2 separate regions of the Homo sapiens genome follow, and region 1 is linked to region 2. The links are contacts of gene promoters, found by promoter capture Hi-C in blood cells and fetal thymus (Javierre and others, 2016). All regions are on one chromosome and are shown on one strand. Each heading gives the region's core, a stretch centred on a gene start or on the middle of the fragment in contact. The rest is flanking DNA. Distances are from core to core; before and after follow the strand shown.

Region 1 (6,685 bases), core at 400-2,899, 460 kb before region 2:
TTCATACCTAAGCTATAAAAATATACAAATGAACAATTACGCTACCTTAATGAGTTATATACTTTTAAACAGTTCAATGTCATTTAACATAGTATTTAACAGTTACACATTCATTGATTTATCAAATGTTTATAAAATGACTATCATGCGCCAGGATATTATAGTGAATAAAACAAACATGGAACTTACACAAAGGTAATGGTAAATTTTCATTTAAAAATAATTACTTTGGATGTTCTATTGAGGATAGACCATAAAGCTATATGACAACAAATGTTTCCATTATCTCTTTTTGTTGTCCATTTATAATGGTTAAGTAACCCCAAATTTTATTAAAAGTAAATGAAGGGGCCAGGCATGGTGGCTCACACCTGTAATCCCAGTACTTTGGGAGGCCAAGGCAGGTGGATCGCTTGAGCTCAGGAGTTCAAGACCAGGCTGGTCAACATGGCAAAAACATCTCTCTACTATAAATACAAAAATTAGGCAGACATGGTGGTGTGCACCTGTAGTCCCAGCTACACGGGAGGCTGAAGAAGGAGAATCGCTTGAACCCGGGAGGCAGAGGTTGCAGTGAGCCGAGATCATGCCACTGCTTTCCAGCGTGGGTGACAGAGAGAGACTTTATCTCAAAAAAAAAAAAAAAAAGGTAGTAAATGAATCTAACTGCATAGCAATCTTTTAAAAGAACATTTGATGTTGAGTGTGTGTGTGCCCGTGTGTGTACTTGGGTGGGAGCACATGCACACATACATGTGTGTGCACACACACAATCTGATTTCTCAAACTTCAAAAATTTGCTTTATTTCTTGGATTTTTTTCATGACATCTTCTAATAAATCTCATCTAAAAGTTTTGAATATCAGGGCATTAGGATTAAAAGTCAATTCTCAATATTAAATTCCCGAAGATAATAAACTGAGCACCTAAAACCCATGCCCTACTGTGTGGTGGATACAACGGTGAAGAAGACAGACTTCTTATTTGCTCTCACTGAATGCACACCCTGTTGGTAGGTACAACAGATTAACGACAGTTAAATATAACGTATAAACAACAGATCAGTGCTTGCTAGAGTTAGGGATGGGACAGCATGTGACTAATAAAGCAACAGGGATTTTCTTTGTGTCCATAGGATAGTTCTGTATCTTGATTATGATGATTACATACATTTGCACCTGTGATAAAACTGCACAGAATTACACACACACACACACTTGAATGTGTGTAAACATTAGTGAAATCTAAATTAGGTTTGCAGTCTAGTTAACAGTATTCTGCCAGTATCAATTTCCTTATTCCTATATTGTATTATATCATGACTGAAGTGGTAATTACTGGACTGTATACAATTGTCAAAACTCACTAAACTGCATACTTAAATTATTTTATTGTATGTAAATTATACCTCAATAAAACAAATTTTGTATTTTAAAATGTGTATATGTTGTATGGGAAATGTACGGGTACTATGCACAGGTAAATGGAAGGCTTTACGTGGAAAGCACCATTTAAATTAAGAGCTGAAGACTGAGCAGAAGTAACCTAATTCCAGGAAAGAAAAGGCAAGTTATACAGGAAAATGTTAACTCAGCGGCAGGTCTGGGATGCTCAAATCCTGTTCATTCCCACGAAAGGCATATTTTTAGGGCTGGCCCTTAGTCTCTTAGAAACTAAACCCCTGAAATGTTCTGTCTGATAAGAGTGCTTCTGCATACCTGAAGACGGCCACAATTTGACCACCAACTGGTGAAAAAACTGGCCACCAATTTGAACCAGATAATTTATGCACACACTGTTTTGATGGTAAACACCTGTTTTCTCTCTAGGGTCTGGAAAGTGAATAAATGAGGTCAGTCACGTAGGCGTTGTATGCCTATGAGACTGACCTCCAACACACACCTTAAACACTCAAGCTCAGGCCAGAGTCTCTGCTTGGCAAACCTTTGCATATGATGTCACACTCTTTTTTTTTTTTAATACTTTAAGTTTTAGGGTACATGTGCACAATATGCAGGTTTGTTACATATGTATACATCTGCCATGTTGGTGTGCTGCACCCATTAACTTGTCATTTACATTACGTATATATCCTAATGCTATCCCTCCCCCCTCCCCCCACCCCACGACAGGCCCCAGTGTGTGATGTTCCCTGCCCTGTGTCCAAGTGTTCTCATTGTTCAATTCCCACCTACGAGGGAGAACATGTGGTGTTTGGTTTTCTGTCCTTGTGATAGTTTGCTGAGAATGATGGTTTCCAGCTTCATCCATGTCCCTACAAAGGACATGAACTCATCCTTTTTTATGGCTGCATAGTATTCCATGGTGTATATGTGCCACATTTTCTTAATCCAGTCTATCACTGATGGACATTTGGGTTGGTTCCAAGTCTCTGCTGTTGTGAATAGTGCCACAGTAAACACACGTGTGCATGAGTGTCACACCCTTTATTAACCATGAGTGCTTCTCCTTCAATTATCAAAAATATACAAGAGTGAAAAAGGGAGAAGAAATGTACACAATTAAATCTTCAAACCACAGAAAATAAACCTTCTAATAAGAGAGTTAGACTACATTACATTTTAGCTTCTGTCTGGAAAAGGGCAGCTGATAATTCCTATACTGAGAATGCCAGGCTTAAACTAAGTTTTACCTCTTAGACCTGCAATTTCAAAATGTATCTTAACGACAGCTTTAAGGCCAAGAAAATATAGAGAAGGAAGTCAATTTCTAATGACACAATTATCTGAAAACTTGTAAAACTACAAAAGAAAACTGGAATAAAAATAAAAGGAAGGTGACCAATAAGAAATAAGTATGCCCTGGCACCTCACATGTTCCTATAGTTAAGTTTAGATTCTATACCATAGAGTTAAGTTACAGTTTTAGACTCAGTATTTTCTTCAACTTCCTATTGCAACTCCTTTTGTCAAGGAAACCACTGATTATTTAATGTCATTTAAAAGTTAATGGGTGGACATACTCATTCTAAGTCTTAAAACATCTGTAGGAGTAAACAATGACAAACTCGTATCAGGCTCAGGCATCTGAAGAGCTGAACATTTCAACAGTGCTAAAAGATTTCTATACAAGTTCAGCATCCTCAATGCAGATTAATATGACTTCTTGACTAAACATGGACACTGGCCTTCAAACTAACAGCCACCATCATTTGCAAAAAGTTGCCAATGAAATACTTATAACTTTAACAAATGAAAGTTGTGAGAGAAAAAATAAACGTTACACGGTAAAGAAAAAAATTTGATTCCGGGGTAAAACAAACTGTTCCTGCTTCCTCATGAGTCATTAGCTTTATTGTCAAACTCATTTTTATAAATTCCTGCTCTATATACTGTTATAACAGTGAATACTGTTATAACAAGATTCTAATTTATTTTTAGAATGTGCTAATTAATATATTTCAGAATATTCACAAATAGGTCAAAATATTTAGTAAGTCATTGAAATTTTCACATTGGTAGTTACATTTAGGCCATCTTTTAATGAAGCTATGTGCATCCTTAATAATTATGTCTAACTAGTAATATAACGCTCAAACACTCATCAGTGTTTTCCTCATGACCCCACCCAAAATGGACTTGGATGAATTTTCAGAATGAGAAATAATAAAATTAGGGGAGTTTATTGTAATCTATTTCCCTCCCTCTCTTCTTTTCATGGGATGGGGTGGTGGTAGAAATAATTTAAACATAATTATTTTATTTCTGCACTGGCTAAACCAAATATATATATGTATGTATAAAATATATGTATTTTTAGAAACTGGGTCTTGCTCTGTCACCCAGGCTGGAGTACAGTGGCACAACCATTTCTCACTGCAGCCCAAACTCAAGCACAAGTGGTCCTTCAGCCTCAGCTTCCCAAAGGGCTGAGATTCCAGGCATGAGCCACTGCATCTGGCCCCATTAAAAATACTGATTCATTTACATAGAAATTAAAAGAGAACACTAAGGAGTGTGTTCACTATGTGCCAGACATTTCTAAGAGCTTTGATATGCTGTTTCACTGAAGACTCACAACAATCCCCTCTGCCCATTTTCTAGACTTAAAAAAAAAGGGGGGGGTCGCCACGTGTGGTGGCTCACGTCAGTAATCCCAGCACTTTGGGAGGCCGAGGCGGGTGGATCACGAGGTCAGGAGATTGAGACCATCCTGGCCAACATGCTGAAACCCCATCTCTACTAAAAATACAAAAAATTAGCCAGGTATGGTGGCGGGCGACTGTAGTCCCAGCTACTCAGGAGGCTGAGGCAGGAGAATCGCCTGAACCCAGGAGGCGGAGGTTGCAGTGAGCCAAGATCACGCCACCACACTCCAGCCTGGACAACAGAGCAAGACTCTGTCTCAAAAAAAACAAAAAAAGAAAACCTAAGATCAGTTAAGAAAATGAACAGACAAGCCACAGACTCAGAGAAAATACTAGCAAAACATAACATGACAAAGGACTAGTATACAAGGTACATGAAAAGTCCTACATTTTAAAATCATAGAGACAGAAAGTAGAATGGTGGTTGCCAGGGGCTGCAAGGAGGACAAATGGGGAAATATTGTCTATAGACTTTCAGTTTTATAAAATGAAAAGAGTTACAGAGAAGGATGGTGGGGATGGTTGTGCAATATTATGAATGTATGTAGCACTGCTGAACTGCACACTTAAAAATGGTTAAGATGGTAAATTTTATGATGGTAAGTGTGTGTTCTACCACAATTTAAAAAAAATTGGGAAGAAAAAGCGTACGATTTTACAATACATATTGTACAAAAAGGTTTAAGCAGATTTTCAAAAAAGGAGACCTACTAACATTCAATATGCACATGGAAGAATAAACAACATAAACAATGATTATTAGTTGGTACCCAGAGAAGTGAACATAAAAACCACCACGATTCAACCACATACCCACCTAGTCAAAAGGCTAAAACAAAACAATGACAACATCAAATGTTGGATAGAATGCAGAGCAACCAGAACTCTCATACATTACTGGAGGAAATATAAAATCACACAACTGTAAAGGATCAAAGGGTAGATACAAATTTCATTTAACATGAAAGTCCCAGCCCATGTTCACAAAAATGCTTGCCAAAGAATGTTCCCAGTCATCTCAATAATAGTAAAAAACAAAACAAAACAAAACAAAACAAAACAAAACAGTCCAGATGTTCATCAACAGAAAAATGGATAAATACACTACGATATATTTATATAACAGAATACTACTCAACAAGAAAACTACTGAAATCTCAAAAACATGAGAAAAGAAACTTCACATAAAAATACGCACTACATAATCTGTTTATAAGAAATTCTAAAACATGCAAAACTAAACTACGGTGGGAAAAACACAGGAGCAATGGTTGCTTGGGGCAATGACTGGGGGCAAGGATTGACTGGGAAGGGTCAGTGGGAAACTTCCTGGGGTGATGGTCATATTCTACATTCCAGAGGCATTCAGATTATTCTGGTGTATGTATCTGTGAAAACTCAATAAATGTATACTTAATATTTATATATTTAACTGTGTATAAATCAAAACAAAAACCATAATTGAATACTGAATTCTAGGTTAACGATACTTATGTTGAAGTGTGCTGACACTTGAAACTTACTTTGAAATGTATGAAAATTTAAGATGGATTAATGGCTAAAGGGATGGAGAGATAAAAACAGTTATGTGATAAAGGAAGCATAACAAACGTTAATGGTAGAATCTAAGTGGTGGGTATGCTGGTGTTCATTATAAAATTCTTTCAACACTGCAGTACATCTGAAGTTTCATAATACAATGTCGTAGAAAAAATAAAATTTTGAGGCACAGAGAAATAATTTCCCCACAGTTAAAGTTAAGCCATTGATCAGAGTGATCACACTCAGCCATGAAGCTTGTTGACGCCAGTTTAAGTCTCCACATAGTGGCCTTTACCTTCTTATATACTATTAGCAGAACAGTGAGAATGACATTTTTTGCAACCTGGATCTGAACTCTGTCATCCCTTTGCACTTAACTTTCTCTGGCTTCTCAGTGTCTTCACAATCAAGGTCAGATGACTGAAAAGGGCATCTCAAGCCATCCCTTACTGTCTCATCTCTCACCCTGCCCTCCAGTCACACTGGCTTTTTATCAGCTCCTCGAATCTCCAAGCTCCCTTCTACAAGGGGCCTTTGTATCAAATCCAAGTGTGGAAAGGCAATTAAGCATCATAACAATTCAATGACTTAGGATTCCAACAGTATTGCTAAAGGGACCTGCTATATAAACCAGGACCAGATTCTGGATGCATTATAACAATTATTCTTACATTACTGGGGTCACAAGAAGGTAAAGGAAAATGGGGCAGAGGGACGAAATAAGAACAAATACAAGCTAAGATCCTAGTAGAAGCCATGGGCTGTAAGATACAGGAACAGAGGACATGTATGCTCTCAGCTGGCTGAGGACTGACCACTTCTCCTTACTTCCGCCAAGTGAGAGAGCTTATCTTGAGATTCATGTAGTAAGGCGGTGTCTTCAAAATCTACTCAAAGGGTCTCCATTTGGTAGTAACTTGTTTCCAAGCAAACAAATACAAACCTTTAGAGGAAAGAATCCCCAAACTAGGTAGGCCCTCAAGATTTCCACATGTGAAGTTCAACAAAACAAGAGTTCAGAACTCACACACAAGG
Region 2 (5,900 bases), core at 2,536-5,035:
GAACCAAGATCGCACCACTGCACTCCAGCCTGGGTGACAGAGTAAGACTGTCTCAAAAAAAAAAAAAAAAAGGGGGGGAGAGAGAGAACTTCCTCTCCCTCTCACCTGAAGTCCCCAAGCTACACAGCAGCTGAGCCAAAGAGAACTCAGAGCCCTTCTCTCCATCATCAGGGTTTTGTGCTATTTCCCGCAATCTAACCAGTCGCACTCAACAAATGACCCCTACCAAGTGTCCCGTCTTCCTGGGGCAATAACACCCACGTCGTCTGAGGTGGGAACAACAGCAACCCATCCACGGCTCTCAAAGGGCCACTCTATCAGGGATATGAAACACTAAGTGGGTTATGCGGCTGCCCTCTAAGTCTGTGGATGTTTTTAATCTTCTTAAAATGCCTCCTCCAAAAGTCACTTGCCAAGGAGGCCACTTCGTAAACACTATGCTGTTTCTCCTGTCACCTCCACCCAAATGGCAAGGGGTTGAAAATGACAATATGACCTGTTAAGCTTCCCTTTCGGCAGGCCCTCTCCTGATTCAGGGTAGAGAAGATTCATTTCCACGAACATTAAAGAGGTCTCCCGGTCCTCTGAAAGTGCCTGATTTCACAAAAGCTTAGCATTTGATACTCGGGGGAAAAGGCCACTAGAAGCACATTTTGAAAGTTTCACATTTAAAAAGATCCTTGTTCATTGATTTTGGTGGGGTAATTAAGCTAATCTAAACAAGGGGACCTTGTCTAGGAGCCGGTGGGGGAGGTGCAGCCGCTCAGGTCCTCTGCATGAAAACCCACTGCAGACGCCTGCTTTTGGGGTCCTCTCACCCCTTCCTTTCTACAAGGCTGCTCTTCGGCTGGGAGGTTTGCTCCCTCTGGTCAAATCTGTTTCCTGGCTCAGGTGGAGACAACCCTTCTGATGGTGTTTCACTAAGTGCGCCTTCGTCAGCATAATCACGCAGTGATGAAAACCTGGGGAACCTAGGAGGCCAGCGAGGAACAGTCCTCACCCATCATTAGCAGGAACGCGGCTTCCAGCATATTCTGCCTCCACAAATTACAGACACGACTCTGCCAGGGGTGTTCCCAAGAAGGGCACTGGCAATTTGGGGTTGTCTGCCACCTACAGTGCTTGTCAGTCACCCTCACTCGGTGCCAGGCCACAAGGCTGTTGGTCACAAACCACCCCAGCCAGCCACTGGGCGTCAGGACCCTCGGGAAGAGCGGGAGAGGGCACTGGGATGCACCACGGTCAGAACGACAATCACAGCCCGAACCCCTGCGCTGCACTCCTCTGTCCTCCCCACCTCTCTCCTGACAACACAGATACAATCCATTCACCACCAAGCAACCTCAAGATTGGCTGAAATACCTTCCTCGGCTCCTTTCCTCCATCGGGAAAGTGGGGAGCTGCCGCTGCCGCAGCCCTCTCCTTCCCTGCAGATCTGCGGGGCGGGCTGGGGCGGGATCTCAGAGCTCACGGAAAGGAGGCAGAATCCGGTTTACAGGCTTGCTCCGCCCCTCCCCCACCCCCCTCCAATAAGCAAAGTTAGAGGGTGTTACAAGCTGCAAGACACACACCTTGGAGCTCACCCAGTCCAATCTCTGATCTGCTTTCACGATGCGACAAGGGCCAAAGCTGCAGCACGCATCTCGGCAGGGCAGCAGGCCACTCCCCCCACGAGGCCCGGGAGGTGGCCCTGGGCAGCCTCCCCACTCCCCGCCCTGTGAACACCTGGGCCAAAAAAACACACCTTTAAATACCCAGTGTGTATTTCAAACACATTTCAAACGATTTGCTTCTTTCCTTTACAGCCACTGCCACAAAAACAATTAGCCTGAACGGGTGTGAAATCCTTGATGTGTAAGACGACCTAGTTCCCCAGCCTCTCTCTAGAAACACATGAGTTCTTTACTGCGCCTGAGTCTCCTCCACCCGGAACCTGCAGGGCTGCCTCTTCTCATCAAGTGGCTTCTGCAAAACCTCTCCCAAGCATTTAAATAATCTCTGCTCGTTCTTTTAACAATAATTCAAACCTAGCAGAAAAGTGAGGACACTATACATTTCTTTTAAGGACAGTGTGTGTTACCTGCTCTGATCCCCATGTGTTACACTCCCTAACCTGTACACCAATACTCCAGCTTTTTGTTTTCTTATTTTTTCCTAAAGCCAGCACAAAATAACAGAAGGATAAGATTCCTACCACATTCTACCTGTCTGCCAATGACACAGGAAGGATGAGACCGTCTGGGGAATGGAAGCGCAGGGCGCTCTCAGTAATGCTGGGCAGATGCAGTGGCTTTTCCCCAGCAGAAATGGGCTTCGATTCAGAATCTACCAGCCCACAAGAATCATCTGACCCCACAACAATTAGTTCAATCACTCATCTGGTAAACCCTCCTCGCTCCGGGTCATAGACTGGAAAAGACAGCCCCCAAAACAGTAATAAAAACGACAAGCCCTGTTTTGCTGGAGTCAGCTGAGGTATCAGATGGGGGTCAGTGGCTAGGTCTGTGAACCTGAAGCCACACTCCATCAGTGACCCGCACTGGAGAGACACAAACACCTCAGGCTCCTTAGGAGGTCAAGCGGCCCTTCCCAGCCCTCCCTAGCCCCCGCCTTCTAGAATCATTCTGAATAGCTAACCAGGAGGCTGGGCCCCGTGTGGATCCGCCTCCGCTGGAAAAGCCGCTGCTGGAAGTGCTCCAATCCAGAGCAGGATACCTGGGGGAGGAACGGGTTAAGCGCAAAGGGGAAAGGGGCAGCGGGTGCTGAGACGCAGAAGGTGCGGGGACTTCTACAGAGCAGGGAATCTGGGCCCGGATGAACTGATGCCCTGGCCTCTTTCCTCCAGGGACAAGGTCGGTCTCAGGAAATCAAGGTATCTTCAAAGGGACACAAGGGAGCGCAGTGCCGATGAGACCGGGGCAGAGCCACAGTCTGGCGGTGCAGGCTGGGGGTCCGAGGCGGGGGACACTGGCTAGCAGTGCTGCCAGGGTCGTGTGTGCACTGGGCAGAGGGAAAGGAGGGGAAGAAGGGAAGGGGAAGAAGGGGAAGAAGGGAGTGTGTTCGGTTGGGAGGACCGGTCCAGACAGAGGGGAGAGGGGGCCACTTCGCGAGTGGTGTATCGCTGGTTGAATTCTCATAAGTTAGAGATAGCAGGCAGGGGTTAGAAGGACAAGACAGGGTCAGGACCAGGAGTTAGAGGCGCCAGGCTCCTCTCTGGGTAGAGAAACCGAGGAACTGGGGGCGGGGAGGACTGATGGGTGCGAAAGCGGGCCGGGTCCAAATGAAGGCGCGCGCCCCGGGGTGGGGGCCGGGGTGGGGGGAATGAGGGAGGCTGCAGGGCTGGGGACCAGGGCAGGTGCAATCCGGAAAGAGGAGGCGGGAAGGAATTGGGGGGCCCTGAGGAGCCAGCGCAAGCCGGGTGGGGGCACGTCCCCTCCCCCGGAGAAGGTGCGGGGCTGGGGCTGCGGCGCGGACCCGACCTGGAGGCCGAGGCTGTGCGGGAGGTGGGGGTGGGGAGGCTGCAGGTGCCCGGCGCCCAGGTGCGAGGTGCAGGGGGCGGCGGGGCAGGCGGCTGCGGGCGGCAGGCCACTCACCTGTCTCCTCCGGCCGGGGCCGCGGGGGCGGCGGGGCGGCCGGGCCGGGCCGGGCAGGGGCTACGGGGGCGCGGAGCCCCGGGCGCACCGGGGTCGGGAGGCGGCTGCGGGTCCGGGCGGGGGCTGCTCCCTCGGCCGGCCGGCCGGGCGGTCAGTCAGCGACGCGGGCGCGGAGAGAGCGCTGCGAGGCTGCGGCCGGCGCGCGGAGACAACGCCGCTTTATCGGGTCGGAAACAGCCGCTCCGCGCCGCTTCCGCTGACGCAGCGCCGGCCCCTGCGCCTCATGACTATGCAGCACCCGCCGCCGCGGGACGGGGATTCGGGGGGCGGGGTCTGCGCCGCGCGCGCTCATTGGCCTCCGCTGCCGCCCACCCCGCCCCCGAACGGCCGCCCCGCCCCCGCCGCGCCCCTGCCCCGCCCCCGCGCGCACCGTGGCTCCCGCCCCCGTCTCGCCATGGCCCCGCCCCCAGCCATAATCCAGCCCCGCCCCCGCCCTCCTCCCGCTACGCCCCCGGCCCCGGCCCCGGCCCCGGCCCCTCCGCACCGAGCGTCCGCCCTCTCTCCCCTAAAGCGCTGGCCCGCAATCCACCCCATCCCTCTCTGCAGCCGCAGGAGGTGGCCCCCGCCTGTCCCCACCTTCTCTCCCCGCTCCTCTCGCCACTCTGTCGCAGAGGGGTCCGGCTAGCCACGAGGCCCCGGCCCCCGGCAGCCCAGCCCCTTGGCAAGCACCCTCCCGCCCCCTCCGCCCCTGCCCGTGGCGCGGCGACATGGGCCCCATCCAGGTGCTGCAGCCCCTCCTCCGCTGCAGGAGAAAACTCTCCTGTTTTCCCCTCCCTGCCACCCTCCGAAGACCTCCTACCTGGTCCCGGACCACGCCCCCGTCCCCAACTCCCCCAACGCCCCGCGCTCTGCGGGTCCCCTCTCCAACCTGGAGAGCGGGGCAGGACGAAGACCCGACCCGGAGCTTCCTGGAGGCTGGGCCTCCCTCTCAGGCTTGGCCCTGGCCAGGGACACTGATCCGTCTCTCCCCACGTGTAGAAGGGCCACAATCCCTAGGGCAGGACTGCTGGGAAACCCCATCAAGACAAGGTCTGGGGAGGCGGCTTTAACAGACAGATGTGATGGGCTGAGGCCAACCCTGTTAACGTCGCAGCCCTGCACCCTTGCCAGGGTTTAAGTTGCTTTGGAGGAATTACTTCATTTCTCAGAACCTTGGCGTCCTCATCTGTAAAATAGAAATCGTAAGATCCATCTCACCTGTTGCTAAAGGAATTTAGAAGTGAAGTGCAGAGCAGAGCCTCCAAGAGCATCGGAAATGGGAAAATCTGACCATATCAAGTGTTGACAAGGAAATGGAGCAACTGGAACTGCCAGACACTGTTGGTGGACATGCAAAGTGGTACAACTTTCAAAATCTTTTTGAAAGGCCTTGATTACCCAGCAATTCTGCTCCTAGATACACACCTAACATTGTGTTTCTGTTGATAGCAGCAGTGTTTATAATTGCCCCAAACTGGAAACTACTGAAATGCTCATCAGCCGTTAAATGGATACATAAATTGTGATATATTCACACAGTGGAATGACAGCAATGACAGTGAATAATCAACTACACACAACAACATGGATGACTCTCACAAATGATGTTGAGGAAAAGAAGCCAGAGGATAAAAAGCCATATTTGTTTCCATGTGGATAAAGTGGTAGAAGGTGTATATGGGGGTAGCAGTCAGGATAGTGGTTACCCTTGGAGGGAGGGGTGCCAGAGCCAGGAAGCAGGGCACAGAGGACGTGTCTGGGGGCTGGCTGTGTTCTGTGTCTTGGTCTGAGTGCTGGTTACAGTGTGCTCAGTTTATGATGACTTTTCCAGCTGTGCAGTCAAGATGCATGTGCCTGTGGGGCACGGTGATTCACGCCTGTAATTCTAACACTTTGGAAGGCCAAAGCGGGTGGATTGCTTGAGCCCAGGAGTTTGAGACCAGCCTGAGCAACATGGTAAGACCCTATCTCTATTAAAAAAAAAAAAAGACGTGTGTGTTTTTCCATGTGTATGCAGTATCTCAACAGAGGGTTAGTAAGTACATCAATGGTCTGTAGACAGTCCAAAGCAGCATCAGACACATCATGAGTGCTCAAACTGTACATCTGCTTCCCTGGTGATTTTTCTTTCAATGGCCAAAGGATAGAGGCAGCGGCAATTCCAGGTGTGCTGTGAGCCAACTGTGTGAGCCTGGGCGCCTACTTAACCTCCCTGAGTCCTCTTCTATAAGTGAGCATTCTAATAGTACCTAGTTCACAAGTTGTCCT

The links. Contacts are between HindIII fragments. The CHiCAGO score rates a contact against its expected background, and 5 or more counts as called.
Region 1: a contact is called between a fragment that was not itself captured here and the fragment with the promoter of SLC45A4 in region 2, in 1 of 17 cell types (total B cells). The highest score is 5.3, in total B cells.

The regions. Positions count from the first base shown.
Region 1 is chr8:140,851,228-140,857,912 of GRCh38, forward strand. The region is part of intron 5 of PTK2 (protein tyrosine kinase 2); the gene reads right to left. Among named protein-coding and RNA genes, the nearest start is that of MIR151A, 120 kb to the left of the region's middle. The HindIII fragment of the contact is 8,505 bases long and covers 1-5,902 here.
Region 2 is chr8:141,304,503-141,310,402 of GRCh38, forward strand. SLC45A4 (solute carrier family 45 member 4) reads right to left here and starts at 3,786. Exons shown (of 9, transcript NM_001286646.2): 1 at 3,594-3,786. RefSeq lists silencers at 3,662-3,761, 3,782-4,021. The HindIII fragment of the contact is 5,295 bases long and covers 608-5,900 here.